3 separate regions of the Homo sapiens genome follow, and all the other regions are linked to region 1. Evidence: promoter capture Hi-C in 16 types of primary human blood cells and fetal thymus (Javierre and others, 2016). All regions are on one chromosome and are shown on one strand. The core of a region is centred on a gene start or on the middle of the fragment in contact, and the rest is flanking DNA. Distances in the headings are between cores, read along the strand shown. Region 1 holds the start of ANKRD2 (ankyrin repeat domain 2). Region 2 overlaps ARHGAP19 (Rho GTPase activating protein 19). Region 3 overlaps ARHGAP19 (Rho GTPase activating protein 19).

The links. Contacts are between HindIII fragments. The CHiCAGO score rates a contact against its expected background, and 5 or more counts as called.
Region 2: a contact is called between a fragment that was not itself captured here and the fragment with the promoter of ANKRD2 in region 1, in 1 of 17 cell types (neutrophils). The highest score is 6.7, in neutrophils.
Region 3: a fragment that was not itself captured here is called in contact with the fragment with the promoter of ANKRD2 in region 1 in 1 of 17 cell types (neutrophils); the score reaches 6.1 in neutrophils.

Annotation. Positions count from the first base shown.
Region 1 is chr10:97,571,198-97,574,981 of GRCh38, forward strand. ANKRD2 (ankyrin repeat domain 2) reads left to right here and starts at 1,582. Exons shown (of 9, transcript NM_001346793.2): 1 at 1,582-1,678. The coding sequence starts at 1,592. UBTD1 (ubiquitin domain containing 1) reads left to right here. Exons shown (of 3, transcript NM_024954.5): 3 at 1-9. RefSeq lists a silencer at 3,535-3,784. The HindIII fragment of the contact is 18,561 bases long and covers 1-3,784 here.
Region 2 is chr10:97,230,316-97,234,099 of GRCh38, forward strand. All of the region lies in intron 9 of ARHGAP19 (Rho GTPase activating protein 19), which reads right to left. All of the region lies in intron 9 of ARHGAP19-SLIT1 (ARHGAP19-SLIT1 readthrough (NMD candidate)), which reads right to left. LOC105378447 (a long non-coding RNA gene) reads left to right here. Exons shown (of 3, transcript XR_946226.3): 3 at 841-923. Among named protein-coding and RNA genes, the nearest start is that of SLIT1, 46 kb to the left of the region's middle. The HindIII fragment of the contact is 6,324 bases long and covers 1-3,784 here.
Region 3 is chr10:97,261,766-97,265,549 of GRCh38, forward strand. ARHGAP19 (Rho GTPase activating protein 19) reads right to left here. Exons shown (of 12, transcript NM_032900.6): 3 at 3,061-3,141; 4 at 1,655-1,864. ARHGAP19-SLIT1 (ARHGAP19-SLIT1 readthrough (NMD candidate)) reads right to left here. Exons shown (of 15, transcript NR_037909.1): 3 at 3,061-3,141; 4 at 1,655-1,864. Among named protein-coding and RNA genes, the nearest start is that of ARHGAP19, 29 kb to the right of the region's middle. The HindIII fragment of the contact is 920 bases long and covers 1,448-2,367 here.

The sequences.
Region 1 (3,784 bases), core at 332-2,831:
CTCCTTCTCGCTTGCCTGGCATTTGACTGAATTCTCCTGCAGCTCTGTGGGGCCCCTGGAGCTGTTCTGGTATGGGAACAGGTGGATGCCTGGCCTCCCCAGCTGCTCTGGGCATGCAATCTCCAGCAGAGTGAGCCTGGAACTGCCAGTCTTCTGGGCCCTGATCCCAGCTCCCCTGGTGTCCTCATGAGTCCTCAGGAAAAGCCACTCTTTGCTTTTCTTTAAAGCAGAGCCATGCTGCCTGCCCTGCCTCCTCCATCAGTTGCTGGGAGGATTAAGCAGGAAGACAGATGTGAAAGTGCTTGCAAGGCGAAGACAGCACCTCAGGAAGGTGGTCTGCTCCTGCAGCAAGAGGGGCTAACTTCCGGCCCTGGAGACGCTGTAGCCATCGTGATGTTAAAGCAAAATCTCTGACAGATTTAGATCGTGTGTCAGAGGTTTGTGTCAGCTTCCCAGCAAGGGAACCAGAAAGGAAAAGGAACCGGTTCCTCATGCTTCCTAGGGGAATGCATGCATATCTGAAGAGAAGGGAATCTTATATAAGGCTGTTTAGCTAAGGGCAGCCACCAGCCAGGTGAGCCTTACAGAAGCACAGGGCTGGGTGTCTGCAGTTCCCTAGCAGATTAACCTGGGTCACAGTGACTCAGAGCTCCAGCATGCGAGTTCCAGGTGTGGAACTGAGCAAGTACAGATCTGCTTTTGCTCCACTTGGGAGTATTTTTCCTTCTTAGTGAGCATGGGCAGCCTCCTGGCCAGGGAAGTCTGGCACTGTCTGGGCCTGACAGGGAAACCCTGGGAGGGTAGAAGGATCCAGAGTAGCTGCTGTTCCTCGCTAGCTGGGCTTAGTGCTTTCCGGAGACCCCTTTCTTGAAGCAAGACTCTGTAAGCCCTGCAGAGGTCCCCTGAGCACTTACCAAGAGAGGAGACAGATTGGATAAGGTTTGTTCATGACTAAAAGTCACCCAGCCAAATGCAGTGATGCTTAACGGGGAAGCATGTGGGACCCCGGAGAGCCGAAGGCCAGCGTGAGCTGTGATCAGAGAGGGAGACAGCTGCCCTTCCTGCTACCACGGCCCTGGCCTGGACAAGTAGAGTGTGACCCTCCTCACAGCCAGCAGGGCCTGTCTGCAGGACAGCCTGGGAGTACAGAACTGTCCTGGGTCCCCCGTTTGGTTTTCAGGCCCTCTTCCTGGAGCTGGCTGAGCAGGGTTTCCAGGCATCCAGCAGGTGGCACTGTCATCTGGGCTGGAGCATGCAGCCAGCAGTTCCCTTTTGCAACTCAGTTGCCTTGGCTAAGGCCCAACCAGTCCCAAGTGCTCAGGACAGAGGCTGGACGGGCTCCTTCCTGCACCCCTGCTCTTGGGACACAGTGCCCTCCGGCTCTAATAGGCCAGGAGTTGGGGGGGCAACTGGCTCTGCTCCCTGGCCCTGGCTCCCCCTGCTCCCTGGGGCTGCCCGAGGTGAAGGTGACAGGTGGGGGAGGCAGGTGGAGAATTGGGCCAGTGAGCTCATGGCAAAGGCGCCCAGCTGGGCAGGGGTGGGTGCTCTGGCCTATAAAGCCCCCGAGGCCCTGTGGCCTGCAGAGGCGGTTATGGACGGCACCATGGAGGACTCCGAGGCGGTGCAGAGGGCCACAGCGCTCATCGAGCAGCGGCTGGCACAGGAGGAGGAGAATGAGGTGCGAGCAGGGGTGGAGGTGCCCAAGGGGGTCTGAGGAGATCCAGTTCTGCTGTCAAGGGGAGGGAGATCCTGTCTGCTACACCTGTGGTGGGGAGGGGGGCAGATGTCCCCAGGGGCCCAGTTGGGCCTCATTCCTGTCCCAGGGTATTACTGGCAGGGGGTATTGCTGGCAGCAGAAGACTGAGGCTTCAGCCTTCAAAATTAAGTCAGTGAGATGGGGAGCTGGGCTGGGCTTCCTAAGACTGCTCACCCTCCTGGGCCTTGAGAGACAGTGGGCTGTACAAAGCAGACAGCTGGGTGCTGCCTGGGACTTTCAGGAATGTGTGGCCCTGTGATGCCCCAGTGACTGAGTGGGAGGCTGGGGCAGGGGAAACTCCAGTATTTGGCCAGTGAAGAAGAGAGTGAGGAAGGGATGCTGGGAAATGAAGCATGGATTTTGCCAGCCTGCTGGCCACCCTTGGGGAGTCCTTTGGCGTGTGGTGTTCTGGGCAATTGCATTTTCTCTGGGATAAGGAAGTGGAGCGGTGGCAGGGGGTGCTGGCTTGTCCTATTCTGCATTTTTTTTTTTGAGACGGGGTCTCCCTCTGTTGCCCAGGCTGGAGTGCAATGCATGATCTTGACTCACTGCAACCTCCGCCTCCTGGGTTCAAGCGATTCTCCTGCCTCAGCCTCCCGAGTAGCTGGGATTACAGGCATGCACCACCATGCCTGGCTAATTTTTGTATTTTTAGTAGAGATGGGGTTTCACTCTGTTGGTCAGGCTGGTCTCAAACTCCTGGCCTCAGATGATCCACCCACCTTGGCCTCCCAAAGTACTGGGATTACAGGTATGAGCCACCATGCCCGGCCCCTACTCTTCACTTTATTTAAACTAATACTTCATCTAGTGTTGGCTCTGCCAAGAGCCCAGAGCTGTAGAAATGGGTGGACCAATAAGGGTCAGACCCTGCCTTCTTTTTACCAACCCAGGATTCATTTTAGCCCATTTGTTGGTTTCATAGTCAACTAAGAAACAAGGCAAAGGGAAGAAATGACTAAATAGAGGTGTGAATCAGAAGTGGAGGAACACAAGGGGCTCATGAATTGTTCTGAGGGCCTTCAAGGACTCCTCTGTGGACAGGGCCAGGTGCAGTGGCTCAAGCCTGTAATCCCAGCATTTTGAGATCTGAGATCCGAGGTGGGCAGATCACTTGAAGTCAAGAGTTCGAGACTCACCTGGCCAACATGGTGAAATCCTGTCTCTACTAAAAATACAATTAGCCAGGAATGGTGTCAGGCACCTGTAATCCCAGCTACTCAGGAGGCTGAGGCAGGAGAATTGCTTGAACCTGGGAGGCGGAGGTTGCAGTAAGCCGAGATCGCACCACTGCACTTCAGCCTGGGTGACAGAGGGAGACTCCGTCTCAAAAAAAAAAAAAAGGGGACTCCTCTGTGGACAGGAGGATACCTGAGCTGGGCCTTCAAGGGGACTCAGTGGAGTCCAGGATGGTGGAGGGTATTCCAGCCTCAGGAAATGCAGGAGCTGAAGTTTCCATGAGTGAAAGCGTGGCTGTCTTGATAAAGTCTGGTAGTAGGGGCTAAGGCTGGAAAGACACAAGCCAGAGAGGGCCATGTAAAAGATATTTATTCTGTGGGCAGTGAGGAGCCACTAAATGTTATTGAGTGAGGGAGATTGGTGTCATCTGACCTATTTTAGGAAAGCAGCTCTGATGGCCCTGAGAAGGACTTGTTGGAAAAGGCTGGCCCTAGCAGGAATGGAGGGGAGGAGATAAATCAGGTTGGAGGTAGATGCCATTCAAAAAAAGGAGTGTGACTGAATGAGGGGTGAGGAGGAAGGAAGGGTCAAGACCCCAAGGGAAGAAGGGATGAGGTCAGGAAAGAGCTTGGAATGAGCCCTGGCTGGGGCAAGCATCCCTGGATCTCTAGGAATCCCACTTCTCCCTCCCCCAAGGGCATGTGCCTATGGTTGGCTGGTGCCAGGCAGGTGAGTCATGCTGCTATGCCAGTTCTGGAGTGCTGCCAATAGACACACAGACCTTCAGCAAGGGGACGCAGAGCAGTGTCTTCCGTTCATTCATCCAATAAATATAGCTACAGAGCTGTC
Region 2 (3,784 bases), core at 341-2,840, 340 kb before region 1:
CTAAGGCACTTCTTCCTCCCTGTCATTTACTCACACAGGACTGGAACATTTGGAGACATTCTATAAGAGTTCCTAATATAGCCACAAGAAGGTAGAGGCCTTCTTAAGGGGGTCACATGACTGTACTGACATTCAGAGCAAGACTAAAAGCCCTTTCATCTCTGAACAGCTTAGAAGATGATGTAGTTTAGGTAACCGCCAACAGTGACAATTCTACCATCTTTGGAGAAATTTTTTTTTCCCTTAGAGAATAAATTTGAATTCTAAAAAAAGAACATATCAAAACTAGAACATTAAACCCTGCATTATAAATATGAGCAGCAATATTCAGAACATTCTGATTTAATAAATAATTTACATGAGAGGAGTTCTGGAGGAAAAAACTCTAGCCAAAAAAGGGATCCAGACAGGCTAGATGGTCAATTATACCTTGATAAGGCTGAGGGAAAACACAAAAATAATATTTTAGGCCGGGAGCGGTGGCTCACGCCTGTAATCTCAGCACTTTGGGACGCTGAGGCGGGTGAATCGCTGGAGGCCAGGAGTTTGAGACCAGCCTGGCCAACATGGTGAAATACTGTCTCTACTAAAATTAACTGGGCGTGGTGGTGCATGCCTGTAATCCCAGCTACTCGGGAGGCCGAGGCATGAGAATCACTTGAACCCAGGAAGTGGAAGTTGCAGTGAGCTGAGATCATGCCACTGCACTCCAGCCTGCACACCTAGTGAGACTCTTGTCTCACCAAAAAAAAAAAAAAAAAAAAAAAAAAAAAAGACTAACACATAGAGGAACATTTATCTGACTATAACTTTTCTGATTCTCAATCATCTCTATGACAGGGAAGTCAGAGGGAATGACAGATTCTTCCAAATGAGAAGAAAAAAACAAGAGTAAACTAACGATGTTCGTTTTACTAGCCCTGTCTAAGCAGGTAAATGCACTTTTAGGATTCTAGCTAAGGGATTTTTTTTAAACAATGATAAAATGAACATAACATAAAATTTACTATTTTAACCATTTTTAAGTATACAGTTCAATGGTATTAAGTATATTAATAGTGTTGTGCAACCATCACCATCATCTATCTTCAGAACTTTCTCATCCTCCCAAACAGAAATACTGTACCCATTAAATAATATCTCCCCATTCTCCTCATACTCTTAGCTCCCCTGACAACCAACCACCTTCTCTACTTTCTGTCTCTGAACTTGACTCACAGGTACCTCAGTGGAATCATACAGTATTTTTCCTTTTATGACTGGATTATTTCTCTTAGCATAATATCTTCAAGATTCACGCATGTTGTAGGATATGTCAGAATTTCTTTCCTTTTTAAGGACAAATAATGTTCCATTATCTGTATATCCAAGGTTTGTCATCCATTCATCAGTCAATAGACAGTTGGGTTGCTTCTGCCTTTTGGCTTTTGTGAATAATGCTGCTATGAATACGGGTGTACAAATATTGCCTCAAGACCCTGCTTTCAATTCTTTTGGTTATATACCGGGAGTAGCATTGCTGGATCACAAGGTCATTCTATTTAAATTTTTTAGGAACTGCCATACTGTTTTCCACAGTGGCTCCTCCATTTTACATCCCTATCAATAATGCATAGGGGTTCCAAATTCTCCACATCCTCATCAACATTTGTTATTTTCCGTTGTTTTTTTTTTTTTTTTTTTAATAATAGTCATCCTAGTGGGTGTGAAGTGGTATCTAATTGTGGTTTTGATTTACATTTCCCTAATGATTAGTGATGTTGAACATCTTTTCATGTGTTTCTTGGCCATCTGTACATCTTCTCTGGAGAAATTTCTATTTAAGTCCTTTGCTCACTATTTTTTTTTTTTTTTTTTTTTTTTTTTGAGACAGAGTCTCGCTCTGTCACCCAGGCTGGAGTACAGTGGCTCAATCTCGGCTCACTGCAACCTCTGCCTCCTGGGTTCAAACGATTCTCCTGCCTCAGCCTCCTGAGTAGCTGGGACTACAGGCACATGCCAACATGCCCGGCTAATTTTTTGTATTTTTAATAGAGATGGAGTTTCACCGTGTTAGCCAGAATGGTCTTAATCTCCTGACCTCGTGATCCGCCCACCTCAGCCTCCCAAAGTACTGGGATTACAGGCGTGAGCCACTGTGCGCGGCCTCTGCCCACTCTTTAATGAGGTTGTTTTTGCTGTGTTGAGTTATAGGAGTTCTTTAGATTATTATGGATATTAATCCCTAATCATAAATATGATTTGCAAATATTTTCTCCCAATCCAGGGTTGCCTTTTCACTCTGTAGATGGCAAAGGAAATTTTGATGTCAAGTAAGCCTAATGTCCTAGAAGCTACTGGCCCCAGGAGGTCAGGATTGAGAGTGAATTCTAGATATCTATAAATTATAACTAGGACCAAAATTACAGTAAGATGAATTTGTAAATGCTAACAGCTGTACCTCAAAAAAAAAAAATTACAGACACAGTGGCTCACATCTGTAATCCCAGCACTTCAGGGGGCCAAAGCAGGAGGATCACTTGAGCCCAGAAATTCAAGACCAGCAACACAGGCTGGGCATGGTGGCTCACGCCTATAATCTCAGCACTTTGGGAGGCCGAAGCGGGCAGATTACTTGAGGCCAGGAGTTCAAGACCAGGCTGGCCAACATGGTGAAACCCCATCTCTACTAAAAATACAAAAAATTAGCCGGGCATGGTGGTGGGCGCCTGTAATCCCAGCTACTAGGGAGGCTGAGGTGGAAGAATCACTTGAACCCTGGAGATGGAGGTTGCAGTGAGCTGAGATCACGCCACTGCACTCCAGCCTGAGGCATAGAGCGAGACTGTCTCAAAAAAAAAAGACCAGCAACACAGCAAGACCCCATCTCTACAAACATTTAAAAATCAGCCAGGTATGATGGCATGCACTTGTGGTCCCAGCTACTTGGGAGGCTGAAGTAGGAGGATCGCTGAGCGCCCAGGAGATCAAGGCTGCAATAAGCCATGATGGTGCCACTTGTACTTCAGCCTGAGCAGCAGAGCAAGACCCTGTCTCAAAAATAAATAAATAAATAAATATTACAAGTTATTTATTTTTAGGGCAAAAATTTTAAATTTTAAGCAAAGAGCTCCCTGTGTTGCTGGAATTATATATCTTAATAACAAAGTAATTTTTAAAAGAAAAGCAGGGCAAAACACCAAAAATAAAAACAAAAGGAAGCCATCCTCAGCAAACTAACACAAGAACAGAAAACCAAACACCACATGTTCTCACTTGTGAGTAGGAGCTGGCCGGGTGCAGTGGCTCATGCCTATAATCCCAGTACTTTGGAAGGCCAAGGCGGGTGGATCACTTGAGGTCACGAGTTCGAGACCAGCCTGGCCAACATGGTGAAACCTCGTCTCTACTAAAACTACAAAAATGAGCCAGGCATGGTGGCGCACGCCTGTAGTCCCAGCTACTTGGGAGGCTGAGGCAGGAAAATGGCTTGAAACCAGGAGGCGGAGGCTGCAGTGAGCTGAGATCAAGCCACTGCACTCCAGCCTGGGTGACAGAGAGAGACTCCATCTAAAAAAAAAAAGTGGGAGCTAAACAATGAGAACACATGGACACAGGGAGGGGAACAACACACACTGGGGCCTGTTGGGGGGTGGAGTGGGGGGAAGGAGAGTATTAAGAAAAGTAGCTGGCCAGACGCAATGGCTTATGCCTGTAATCCCAGCAATTTGGGAGGCTGAGGCGGGTGAATCACCTGAGGTCAGGAGTTCCAGACCAGCCTGGCCGACATGGTGAAACCCCCTCT
Region 3 (3,784 bases), core at 658-3,157, 310 kb before region 1:
CAGGGGCAGGAAACTAAGCAACTGCAGTAATGGATATTGATGCTGTGAACACTTAGAGCCCATAGCAGCATAACAGACGTGCAATTTAAGAATGAATTCCCTACCACATGGGTATAAAGCAGTATGAAGAAACTATTTATGAGCTGAAAATGGAACACTCTCCAAGATACAGTAAGTGAAAAAAGCAAACCACAGAACCATGTGTGTAACCTATTACATAAAAATCAGAGAAAAGGAATATATGTATTTGTTTGGAAGTACACAAAATATCTCTGGAAGGATACTTTAGAAATCAGTAACACTGGTCTGGGGGCTGCGGCTCATGCCTGCAATCCTAGCACTTTGGGAGACTGAGGAGGGAGGATCACTTGAAGCCAGGAGTTTGAGACCAGCCTGGGGAACAGGCTTTCTTTTAAAAAAAAAAAAAAAAAATTTTTTTTTTTTTAAATCAGTAACACTAACCAGTGTTACTGGTGTTGGGGACTGGGTGAACTGGGTGTTGGGGAACAAGTGTAGGAGAGAAGGTTTTTACTGTATATTATTTGAATCATCTGAATTTTGAACTATGTGTTTCTATTCAGAAAACAAATAATAATTTTTAAAAAAAATAAATTTCCTTGGCTGGGCACAGTGGCTCACATCTGTAATCCCAGCACTTTGGGAGGCCAAGGTAGGCCGATCACAAGATCAGAAGTTCGAGACCAGCCTGGCCAACATGGTGAAATCCCGTCTCTACTAAAAATACAAAAATTAGCTAGGCGTGGTAGCGCGTGCCTGTAGTCCCAGCTACTCGGGAGGCTGAGGCAGGAGAATCACTTGAACCCGGGAGGCGGAGGTTGCAGTGAGCCGAGATTGCACCATTGCGCTCCAGCCTAGTGACAGAGCGAGACTCAGTCTCAAAACAAACAAACAAACAAATAAAATTTCCAAGAGTAGAGATGCCCTCAACCGAGGCATAGAAATACTGAGCAAAAACCCCAAACCAAGGCAAAAATACCGAACCTATAAACATCTGAAATATATGAATCAATCCAATGAAAAGCATACATTTATTAAGCAACTAAAACACGTTGGGCACAGTGGCTCATGCCTATAATCCCAGCACTTCAGGAGGCCAAGGTGGGCAGATGGCTTTGGCCCAGGAGTTTGAGTCTGGGCAACACGGCGAAACCCCATGTCTACAAAAATTACAAAAAAATTTGCCAGGCGTGGTGCCGCACACCTATAGTCCCAGCTACTTGGGAGGCTGAGGTGGGAGGCTCACCTGAGCCCGGGAGAGCAAGGCTGCAGTGAGCCAAGGTTGCACCACTGCACTCCAGCCTAAGTGACAGAGTGAGATCATGTCTCCAACTAAAATGTTCTACACACTACTCGAGGATCTATCAGAGATTCAAAAATAAATAAAACTCAGACGACATCTTACTACCAGCTCCTTATCTCAATACAAAGCTTATTTATCAAGAAAGCCATTCAATTAAAATTAAACTTAACTAGCCAATACCTATGAGTACCCAGAGAAGTCCAGCAACATCACGAAATCTTAACCAATATTAATAGAAGTATTTCTGTGGGTCACAAGCAACAGAAATTTCCTAGGAACTTTACTAAATTGAAAGAAATGTATTTACATCTCCTTCTTACTTCCTATACTCACCAGCGATTTTGAGGTGTGCATTGAAGTGTTTATGTGTCAGCAGAGGCTCCGGCAACTCTCCTAGAAACATCTTCAGCAAAGTGGCAACATCATTTGAGTGAAATTCCCCTGATTCCAAGTCAATGTCAGTTCCATTATTGAGAGCATCCCTTAAAATCTGCTGTCGGACACTATTACCCGGTACTCTAAACAAACCCTCTACTCGCAAGTCTGTTTAGCATAAAACAAAGCAGAGGACAGGCAAAAAGGAAGCAGAAAGATTATTATTAAAATAAATGGTCTAAAGACTACTTTACACTTAAAAGACCCTTCACAAAGCCTTTCAAGTAAGTTTTTGCCTTTTTTCACCAGGGTAGTTTAGAACCTATTGACCTCCTGAGGAGACATATCTGAATGTCCCTGAGCATTTGGAGATCTTCCAAACTAAAAGGTAGTCCTCCTGGGAGTCATTCAACCTCCTGAGGTATGGATAGACAATCTGAATTTAACCCAATCAATGGTCAGGAATAGCTTGAAAAATAAACTTTAAAAAAGCCAAATCTCCCTAAAGACCTCTTCTTGTTTATCCCAGACTTCGTTTGGAGGGGCTACATACATCTGTGGATGTTTGTGGCTCTTGTAAACTGTTTTCCCAGCCCAGAATGAATCCAGAGTCTCTGCATTGCTCCAGGAATTAGAACTCTAATGTGTCAAATTCCTAAGAGATTCCCAGAAGCTTTAGGGTCATCCCAACTAAACTATTCGTCCCTAGGCCAGGCTCAATGGCTCACGCCTATAATCTCAGCACTTTGGGAGGCCTAGGCGGATGAATCACTTGAGCACAGTAGTTCAAGACAAGCCTAGGCAATATGGCAAAATCCCATCTCTACAAAAAACTACAAAAAGTAGCCGGGTGTGGTGGTGCAAGCTTGTGATCCCAGTTACTAGGGAGGCCAAGGTGGGAGAATCACCTGAGCCCGGGAGGTCAAGGCTGCAGTGAGCCAAGATCACACCACTGCACCCCAGCCTGGGTGAGAGAACGAGACCTTGTCTCAAAAAAAAAAAAAAAGTAAAGAGTGTGTTTTAATCATAGAATTCTGGAGAAAAAAGGTACCATGCTCTCTTAAATAAATGCAACAATTCTTTAGGGACAATGTATTTTTCCAGAAGTGTCTCTCTGAGGCAAGAGGTAAATGTGACTTCATAGACACGGTCTAATTTATATACACTTTGAGAGTATAAAACAAATGAATATATGAGATGAAGTTTAAAAGGAAATATATTTAAAAACATGCCACCCAAAATTAACACTGGTTAGTTCCTTTGTTGATGGTTAATTGGCACCTACTAACTCAAGGCAGTTAGCTCTCAACAGAAAACAGAATTCTTCATTAAACAAAGAATGATAAAATTTCAAGTAGTCTTACTTTTGTGTAGATACTCAATCAGTTGGTATATCTGGGCAATGCCTTCCTCCGTCAGTGGGGACCCAAATATCACTCCTTTTTCTGAAAAACCATATGATATGACAGGGCTATATTTCACACAAATAGTACAAAATCATCATACCTAAAACCACTCAAGCATCCTATTTTACAATTCAGCAAGCATTTTCACATGGTCAGTAAACAAAAACCTTAGAACTGGAAGTGCACCAGAAAACGCGAGCAGGACAACTCTCAATCAGCTCTCTCTAAGTTCAATATTAGACTGTAGGTTCCCTGAAGGGAAAGACCATCTTCTTATTCAAGTAAGAAGCATATATCTAGTAAGTAAGGAGATATCTAGCGTGTTAGTATTTAATTTAACAAACAAACAGAAGGCCAGGCATGGTGGCTCACACCTGTAATCCCAGCGCTTTGGGAGGCTGAGGTGGGAGGACTGCTTGAGGCCAGGAGTTTGAGACCAGCCTGGGCAACATAGTGAGACCCCATCTCTACAAAAAATAGAGAACAGTCAGGCATGGTGTCATGCACCTGTAGTCCCAGCTAGTGGGAGGCTGAAACAGAAGGAGAGTTTGAGCCCAGGAATTCAAGGCTGCAGTGAGCTATGATGACACCACCACACTCCAGCATCGGCAACAAAGTGGGACCCCATCCCTTCAAAAAAAGAAAATTCAAGCATTCTGTTCTATAGTCTCTAGCTATGTAA